2 separate regions of the Homo sapiens genome follow, and region 2 is linked to region 1. The links are contacts of gene promoters, found by promoter capture Hi-C in human tissues and cell types (Jung and others, 2019). All regions are on one chromosome and are shown on one strand. Each heading gives the region's core, a stretch centred on a gene start or on the middle of the fragment in contact. The rest is flanking DNA. Distances are from core to core; before and after follow the strand shown.

Region 1 (4,040 bases), core at 971-3,470:
AATGCCATCGAGTTCTGGTGACCAGAGTGGGCAACAGGTAAGCTGTACCTGTACAGGACATTACTTTAATTAGGCTACCACTATAAGCATACTATATGGTATGTAAGCATACTATATGGTAATAGTTTCAATATAGGATGTTTAAACTCTCTTGTTAGAACAGTAGACATAAAAAAGTCCATAAATGGGGCCTGCCGTGTTGGTTCACACCTGTAATCCCAGCACTTTGGGATTGCTTGAAGCCAGGAGTTTGAGACCAGCCTGGGCAAAAAAGAAAGACACCCCACACTCCCCGCTGTCTATAAAGAAAAATAAAAATAAGTTAGCCAGGTGTGGTGGTGTGTGCCTGTAGTCCCAGCCCCTTGGGAGGCTGAGACATGAGGATCACTTGAGCCCAGCAGGTGAAGGCTGCAATGAGCTATGATCTTGTCACTGCACTCCAGCTTGGGTGTCAGAGTGAGATCCTGTCTTGAGAGGGGGAAAAAAAAGTCCACAGATGGGGGCCAACTGACCCCAGCTGTGGACTGTGGAAAGGAAACAGATATAGGGTCTAAGGACCAGCACCTCTAATCTGAGTGTTTGTTTTTCTCTGAAATTGACTGGGTAAACTTGCTCCAATTCTGGTACTTACTCTCAAATTGAATTAGTTTTTTTCATTTATGCATAGCCAAGTACACTGCTTGACACATGGCAGGCACTCATATATTTGTGAAAAGAAGGGAGGATGAGAGGGAGCGAGGGAGAGAAGGAAAAGTTTACAAAGATAGATTTAAGTTCTTCGATTTTTTTGCATAAGTCACAAATTGTTATAGAATCTTTGAAGTAACTGCTTAGGTGTTAACAAGACAAGGCAATACATTAGAAATCTTATTTTTTCATGTAGATGAGTACTATGTATAAATATGAATAAAGCATCTGGGAAATGCCTTTGATCCAGTTCATCTGCCTGTGGGCAGCTTCATTGAAGCAAGTTAATTTTGCAGGCTTGCCATTCTAATTGAGTCACTAATTCATGTATGCATATATTCATTTATTCAGCAAACATTTACTGAGAGCCTCCTATGGGCCTGGCACTGAAGTATGTGCTGAGGTTACAAAAATGAGTAAGATGGTTTCTACCCATAAAAAGCTCAGACTGGTGACAAGAACTGATATATTGTGGTGATGGCTGCACAACTCTTTGAGTACACTAAAAACCATTTAATTGTACAATTTAAATTGGTAGATTGTATGCTATGTAAATTATATCTCAAAACTGTTTAAAAGAAACACAGCCTGAGGCGAAATCTTTAAAAAGTTACCTAGGTGATGTAGGGTACGGTACACACGAAGCAGAGAAGATAGAATGAACCAAGTTATGGAGGTGAGAAACGTGTGTGTGTGTGTGTGTGTGTGTGTGTGTGTGTGTGTGTTGTGGGGGAGGTAAGCTGGGAAGTGATAAAATCCGTAATCAGATTTGTTTTAGATAAACCACACCGACAGCTGTGACGTAATGGAAAGTACACTCATTCTGTTTTGTTTTTGTTTTTTTTTCCTATCAGAATAACTTGTGCGTGGGTCTTGGAGCTGCCATTTTAAAACTAGAAATGTTTTATAAATGTCAAGTATTATTATTCAATTGATCCTAATGGTAAGTCTACTCGCTTGCCAGCAGGGGGTAAATGTAGAGATTAATTTAAGATTTTAAAGCTAAGGTTGATCTTGCGCTGACAGAAAGTTTGACAATTAGCAAAAAAAGTTTGTCAGTGAGTTGGACACCTCCCTCGGGTAGCGGCGAAAACGCCTAGAGAATTTTTAAAATAAGTCTTTCCAAGGCCGGAAAAGTGGCGGAGGAAGCTAGTGGGTTTCAGGGTTCCTGTTTTTCAAGATTTTACGTTGGGTATTAAGTACTCTCACAGCCTGTTAAAATTGTCGCTCTGAGTACACTTGCAGGATCAAAAAAGAAAAAGAATAAGAAGGAAGGATTAAAATAATCACAGCATCGCCAACAGGATCGTATTTTCCCGAAGGTGGTTAACCAGCCATACCGGAACCACGAAACACACAGGGTCCTGGGCAACACGGAGGACTAACAGTAACACCGCCACGCCGGCAGCAAAGCTCATTTTGGTCCCCGCCCCGTTCCTCTTTCTCTTTTTAACTCCTTCCCTCTTTGCGGATTCTAGAACGGAACCTTTTTTTAATTCTTCCCAGTAGAAACGTAGGAACAATTTCGTGAACGCAATCCGGAGTGCCCAACATGGCGGCGGCCGTAAGGTGCATGGGTAGAGGTAAGGCGAGGGGTTGTCTTGCAGGGGAAATGGCTCTGGCACCGAGTCTCTGGTTGCAGCAGAGTGCAAGGCGGATTCTGCTCTGGGTGCTGAAAATGCCTCGTGCTGTTTCTGGTCTCTAGGTTTTTCAGAGGGTGGGTCATTACTACTTAAAAGTGACCTTATGAAGGGTTTCACTCCATTCTGGAGACGTCCACCCTGAGGGAGGGAGTGGGAGCGGGACGTACATCGAGCGCCCTCCAGCCACCTATGGGCATGGCAAGGACTGGGTCGTCTCTGATACTGGGGTGTGGGCTGCGGGTAGTGGAGTGTGATAAGTGAGGTGAGTTCTGATAAGGGAAAGATGATGTATTTGAGTGGCTTAAGTCTGTAAATTAGAGCAATTTTCAAAGTGCTTTTTGGTGCTTTCGGAATTACTTCGTTATAGGCGATTCCAGTTCTTAAACTTCCATAGGTGGTCTAATTTGGATCAACGTTTATCATTTGAGGGGGCTAATTCTGTAGTACCTCTTGGTAGCGCCTCTTTTCATCTTAATAATTTCAACTTTTTGTCTACGATGACAGCCCTTTCTTGTGCAACAATTTTTTTTTTTTTTTTTTTTTGAGACGGCAGTCTCGCTCTGCCACCCAGGCTGGGAGTGCTGTGGTGCGATCTCAGCTCACTGCAACCTCCGTCTCCCAGGTTCAAGCGATTCTCCTGCCTCGGCCTCCCGAGTAGCAGAGACTACAGGCGTGTGCCACCATGCCTGGCTAATTTTTGTATTTGTAGTAGAGACAGGGTTTCACCATGTTGACCAGGCTAGTCTTGCACTCCTAATCGCAGGTGATCCGCCCTCCTCGGCCTCTCAAAGTGCTGGGATTACAGGCGTGAGGCACTGCGCCCGGCCTGTGCAACGCTTTTTGCTTTTATTTTGTGTTTTTGAAGTCCAGTGATATATATTGTTTAATTTAGGTAGGTCTTTAGGTAGAAGCAGTAGCCAGCATTACCCCCATTTTACAGAGGAAGAAACTGAACTTATTAGATATGTGGCCAAGTTCATATAACTAGTAAATGGCAGAGGAAGTACTGAAGCTTGCAATCCTAGGTCAGTGATACATGTATATTTAACACTGCATCACAGTTTTTTTTTTTTTTTTTTTGAGTTTCTTTTTAGGAAAACTGTGTCAAGAGAGTTATTGCTCAAAAATTAGGGGTGACAAGAGATAACAACAGACCCTGATGCCTACTTTGTGAGCAAACCAAAATGTATATTATTTCTGAAAGGAGGTTGAAGGCATCTTCATGTATGACAGAAATCGTTATGTTACACAAATCCAAAGAAACCAAAAATACCTGAATATTATAATTTTCTTGTCACATTTTCTTCTCTTGGCTTCTAGGATATCTCTCTGTTAATTGTCTTCCTATTTCATGTGTCATTTTTTCTCACATTACTTGGCTGGTTCCTCTTCCTCTCCCCAGCCTCTTTACTTTGGAGTGTTCTGGAAGCCAGGGTTCCATCCTTCATTCTCATCTCTTCTGTATCTAAATTCACTCCTTGGTTAGCTCATCCAAAGTTTGTGGCTTTGATTATTGTCTATCTTTTTTATTTTTTTAATTGTTTACTTATCAGGAGAAACTTTCACATTTCATAGTTCAAGAACACAGGTCAGTGACAAACTTTTAGGTAATTCAACCCAAAGAAATTCTTTATATTGCAAAATCACTTTGTGCTCTGAAATATACGTTTTCCTCATCTCCTCAAAATCTTTTATGGAATCATCATTTCT
Region 2 (4,040 bases), core at 552-3,051, 710 kb after region 1:
TCATGTAATATTTCCGAATGATTTGGGCAACCAAGTCTATCAAATGAATAATGCCATTCGTTTAAATAATGGAAGCAGTTTTAAATATTTCACTAAAATTCCACTTCAGAATTCCCAAGCCCTTTTTCAAGTTGGGGTGTGTGTGTGCGTACTTTCTTCCCCCCTTGTAATTAAACAAGTTATTCCTCCCCCATTTAATTCTTGCTAAGTACTAAATTGCATAATAAATTGGGAATTTCCTCCTTCTCTAATTCTGTGCATTGGCATTTTAGCATATTTTGATGTGTAGGTGGTAAAGGCCAGTGAAAAGTTCACAGCTGGAGTGCAAACCCTGAGTTTTCATGATGCATGAACAACTGGGATCTGACCACAATTTTGTCTTTTTATATTTAGAATCAGCCACGTCAATATCTGCATGGCACAGAATCACCTGGGAGCTTCTTACACATGTAGAATTTAGCACCCCATCTCTAAAACATATGATTCAGTATATAGAAGGTGTGTCCTGGTCATATACATTTAAAGTATCACTCCAGGTGGTACAGAGACTGCACTTCATGAAACACCAGGAATGGTCTGGAATAGTCTAGTTTGCTTTTAAATTCAGCCTCTGCCTGCAACTAGCTGTGTAGACTTGATCAAATTCTCTGGTCTTCTTAAATCTTGGTGCTGTTTATGTGAAATTGCTCACTCTCATTTATTGGGGCTGTTATGCAGATTATAATTAACATATATAAAGTGCTTAGCATGTAAAGTGTGCTGGGCATGAAGCATTCAAACAATCTAACATTGGGGTAGTTCTTTTACAATGCCAGACACTGGAAGGTGGACAGGTAAGATCAACACAAAAGTTCCTAGATGGATAGAAGTGAAATGAAGCCAGTTGGCTCTGTGAATCCATAAAATATTTATCAAGCCTTGGAGAAAGAGAATTCATCAAAAATTATATTAAAGTGACTAATTTATTTTCTTTCTTTCTTTCTTTCTTTTTTTTTGTGAGACACGGTCTCACTCTGTCACCTAGACTACAGTGCAGTGACACAATCACAGCTCACTGCAGCCTTGACCTTCTGCGCTCAAGTGGTCCTCCCACCTCAGCCTCCCAAGTAGCTGGGACCACACCTGCACACCACCACACCTGGTAATTTTTTAATATTTTGTAGAGACAGGGTCTTACTGTGTTGCCCAGGCTGGCCCTGAACTCCTGGGCTCAAATGATCCTCTGTCTTTGGCCCCCGAAAGACCTGGGAGTACAAGAGTGAGCCACCATGTCCAGACTAAAGTGACTGGTTTGTTACAGGTATCTTCAGGTCAGGAACATTCACAACTAGTTTCTAACTTGCAATTATTTTCTAGGTTCTAAAGTTCTTATTTTAGATGCTATAAGATTAAACAGTGTTTGAGTGTATTGAAATCAATTATTCAGTCTAATCTAATGAATCAGCAGACTATCATATTTTACTGTGCCAGAACACTAATTTTCCATTCACTTTAATGTGACAGATAATGTCCTTTCATGAAAATATTAAACCCTTCAAGAGAGCCAAAATGAACCCATATTAATACAAGACAACAGAGCCAATACTATTCAGTAACAGGATAGAAAAATGCTGTTTAAAAGGAAATATTATTACTGTAAAGACAGATTTTTATTCAAGAAGTTAGGAACTACCACATAAATCTACGTTTACTTTGATTTTTCTCAACATCTTTGTGGCTGTCCTTCTTTAGTCTCATAAGCAATTTTAAAATATTTTTTCTATATTATGGTCTTTCCCAGCTTACTGACATGCTTCTAATTTACATGCTTAAAATTAGTAGTGTGGCATTTTTTACTTCCTTGCAATTCCTGAAGATCTATGATGTCAGTAGAGCTTTTAGAAGGTCTTCTAATTGCACATTCATTAAACAAAGCTTAAGAACAGACAGTCCTAAGGGGGTTTTCATTTATGGATCATTTAGTCTGGGATTCCCCAAGGACAATGGTCAACATTAATTAAAACATCTTGAAGTCTGTAAACCACAGTTACTTCTGTGCGAGATGCCATGATGAGCTTTGAATTATCACTTGAAAAATAAGAAGATTTAGGAAATTTCAGCTTTCTTGTTGCTCTCCTGCAAATGCTACTTTAAAACAAATTTTCTTCAGTGTCACCAAGATTAACACAACTTACTGCTCTAGAGAACCAATGTTTTATATTTGTAATTTGTTACACAAAAGAAAAAGAGGACTCCTGAGATATGGGGTAGATATCATATTCCCTGTGTCTGGGGGGTAGACCATCACTTCAACTGTAACTGCCAGATGGGTTCTTCCTGCTCACTGTGCAGACAAAATCAGTCCACTGAGACCATCACATTGCAGTAAAGAAAAAGTTTAATTGATGCCAGGCTAGCCACACCATGTGGGAGACAGAGTTATTACTCAAATCAATTTCCCTGAAGGCTCAAAAGTTAGGGGTTTTTCAAGGTTAAAATGGAGGGCAGGGGGCTAGGGAAGGGGCATGCTGATTGGTTGGAGATGTAATTATAGGGGTATAGAAAACAGTCCTTGTAGGCTGAGTCTGCTTCTAAGTGGGGGCCACCAAAGGAGTTGCTGGTCTGGGTGGGGCTGTCCAGTAGTCAGAAATGCAAAAGCCTAAAAGACTTCTCAAAAGGCCAACTGTAGGTTCTATAATAGTGATGCTATCTGCAAGAGTAATTGGGGAGGTTGCAAATATTGTGACCTCCAGAATAATGGCAGGTAATTATGTAACTATGCCTGCATCTTAGTAAAATTCAGGCCCCTCTCATCCTCCTAACTTGGTAGACTTCCATTAATTTTACAAGGGTAGTTTAGCTTTTGGGAAGAGCTAGTATCATTTAAACTATAAACTAAATTCCTCCTGAAGTTAGTTTGCCCCACACCCAGGAATGAGCAAAGACAGCCAGCCTGTGAGGCTAGAAGCAAGATGGAGTCAACCATGTCAGATTTCTCTTACTGTCATAATTTTCCAAAGGCAATTTCAGAGCCACTCCTGAAGTGGTAGGAAGGTGTGCGAATTATGGGTTTGTCATATGCCTCTCATATGCATGAAGGAATATGCATATGTAATACAAGAAAGATGTCATTTTGAACCAATGGGACTTTCAAGTATTTCCTTCTAGGTTGGACACCGAGGAACAGTAAGAGATTATCCAGACTTTAGCCCATCAGTGGATGCTGAAGCTATTCAGAAAGCAATCAGAGGAATTGGTGAGTGATATTTTACAATTCCTTTCTTAATGTTGAAGCAAATCAGGCAAGTTACAATCTAAAAGTTCAGTTTGCTCAGATTGGCTTACTCAATTTAATAAATTGTCAGGAATTTTCTAAAATTGTGAAATAACGAGGAAATATATAGAGAACCCAGTTTTATTAAATCTTAACATTTATCATATTTACTTAATATTAAAAATTACCACTGATACTAGTGGTCTAGGGGAGATCCCCAAATGCCGGGGGAATCTCAACCCTGGCTGGTATCCAGACTCTTGACACCATCTAGAGAAGAAATTCAAGGATGGGTCAAAAAATACTGAAAACACAGAGATTTATTGCAAAGTGAAAAATACACACTCAGGAAAGGGGAGTGTGAGTGTACTCAAGAGACAGTCGTGCACAAGGGGGTTTGGGGCTGTTGCCTTTATGGGTTTCTTTAACCAAGGGGTGGAATAGTCATGAAGATTCTGGGAAAAAGGTGATTTCTTGAAACTGTAGTGCCACCCCTTTTTACACCAAATGTCGGTGTTTCCGGAACTGCCATGGCACTGGTGGGTGTGTGATTGAGTATGTTAATTAGCATATAATGAGATCCTAGGAGAATCCTAGGTCAAATCCAGCGCCATGTTGGGTCCAGTGGGTCTTAGCCAGCTTGATCCACACTATGGGTTTTCAGGGTCATATCAGCCCCTAGTTTCTGCAGCTATTTCAACAGTTTCCTTTTGCTAGTCATGTGAAACTGCTGCCTGGAATTTTCTGTTCTCCTGTGACCATCCTGTATTAGTCCTATCTAACCACC

What was found. The method cuts DNA at HindIII sites, captures the fragments that hold promoters and counts their contacts. A contact is called where the count stands out against the background at its distance.
Region 2: a fragment that was not itself captured here is called in contact with the fragment with the promoter of MRPL1 in region 1 in 2 of the 25 tissues and cell types used here (H1 embryonic stem cells and spleen).

The regions. Positions count from the first base shown.
Region 1 is chr4:77,860,610-77,864,649 of GRCh38, forward strand. MRPL1 (mitochondrial ribosomal protein L1) reads left to right here and starts at 2,221. Exons shown (of 9, transcript NM_020236.4): 1 at 2,221-2,270. The coding sequence starts at 2,240. RefSeq lists a silencer at 209-424 and enhancers at 1,909-2,308, 2,669-2,768. The HindIII fragment of the contact is 8,859 bases long and covers 1-4,040 here.
Region 2 is chr4:78,570,033-78,574,072 of GRCh38, forward strand. ANXA3 (annexin A3) reads left to right here. Exons shown (of 13, transcript NM_005139.3): 3 at 3,148-3,235. Among named protein-coding and RNA genes, the nearest start is that of ANXA3, 20 kb to the left of the region's middle. The HindIII fragment of the contact is 5,917 bases long and covers 1-4,040 here.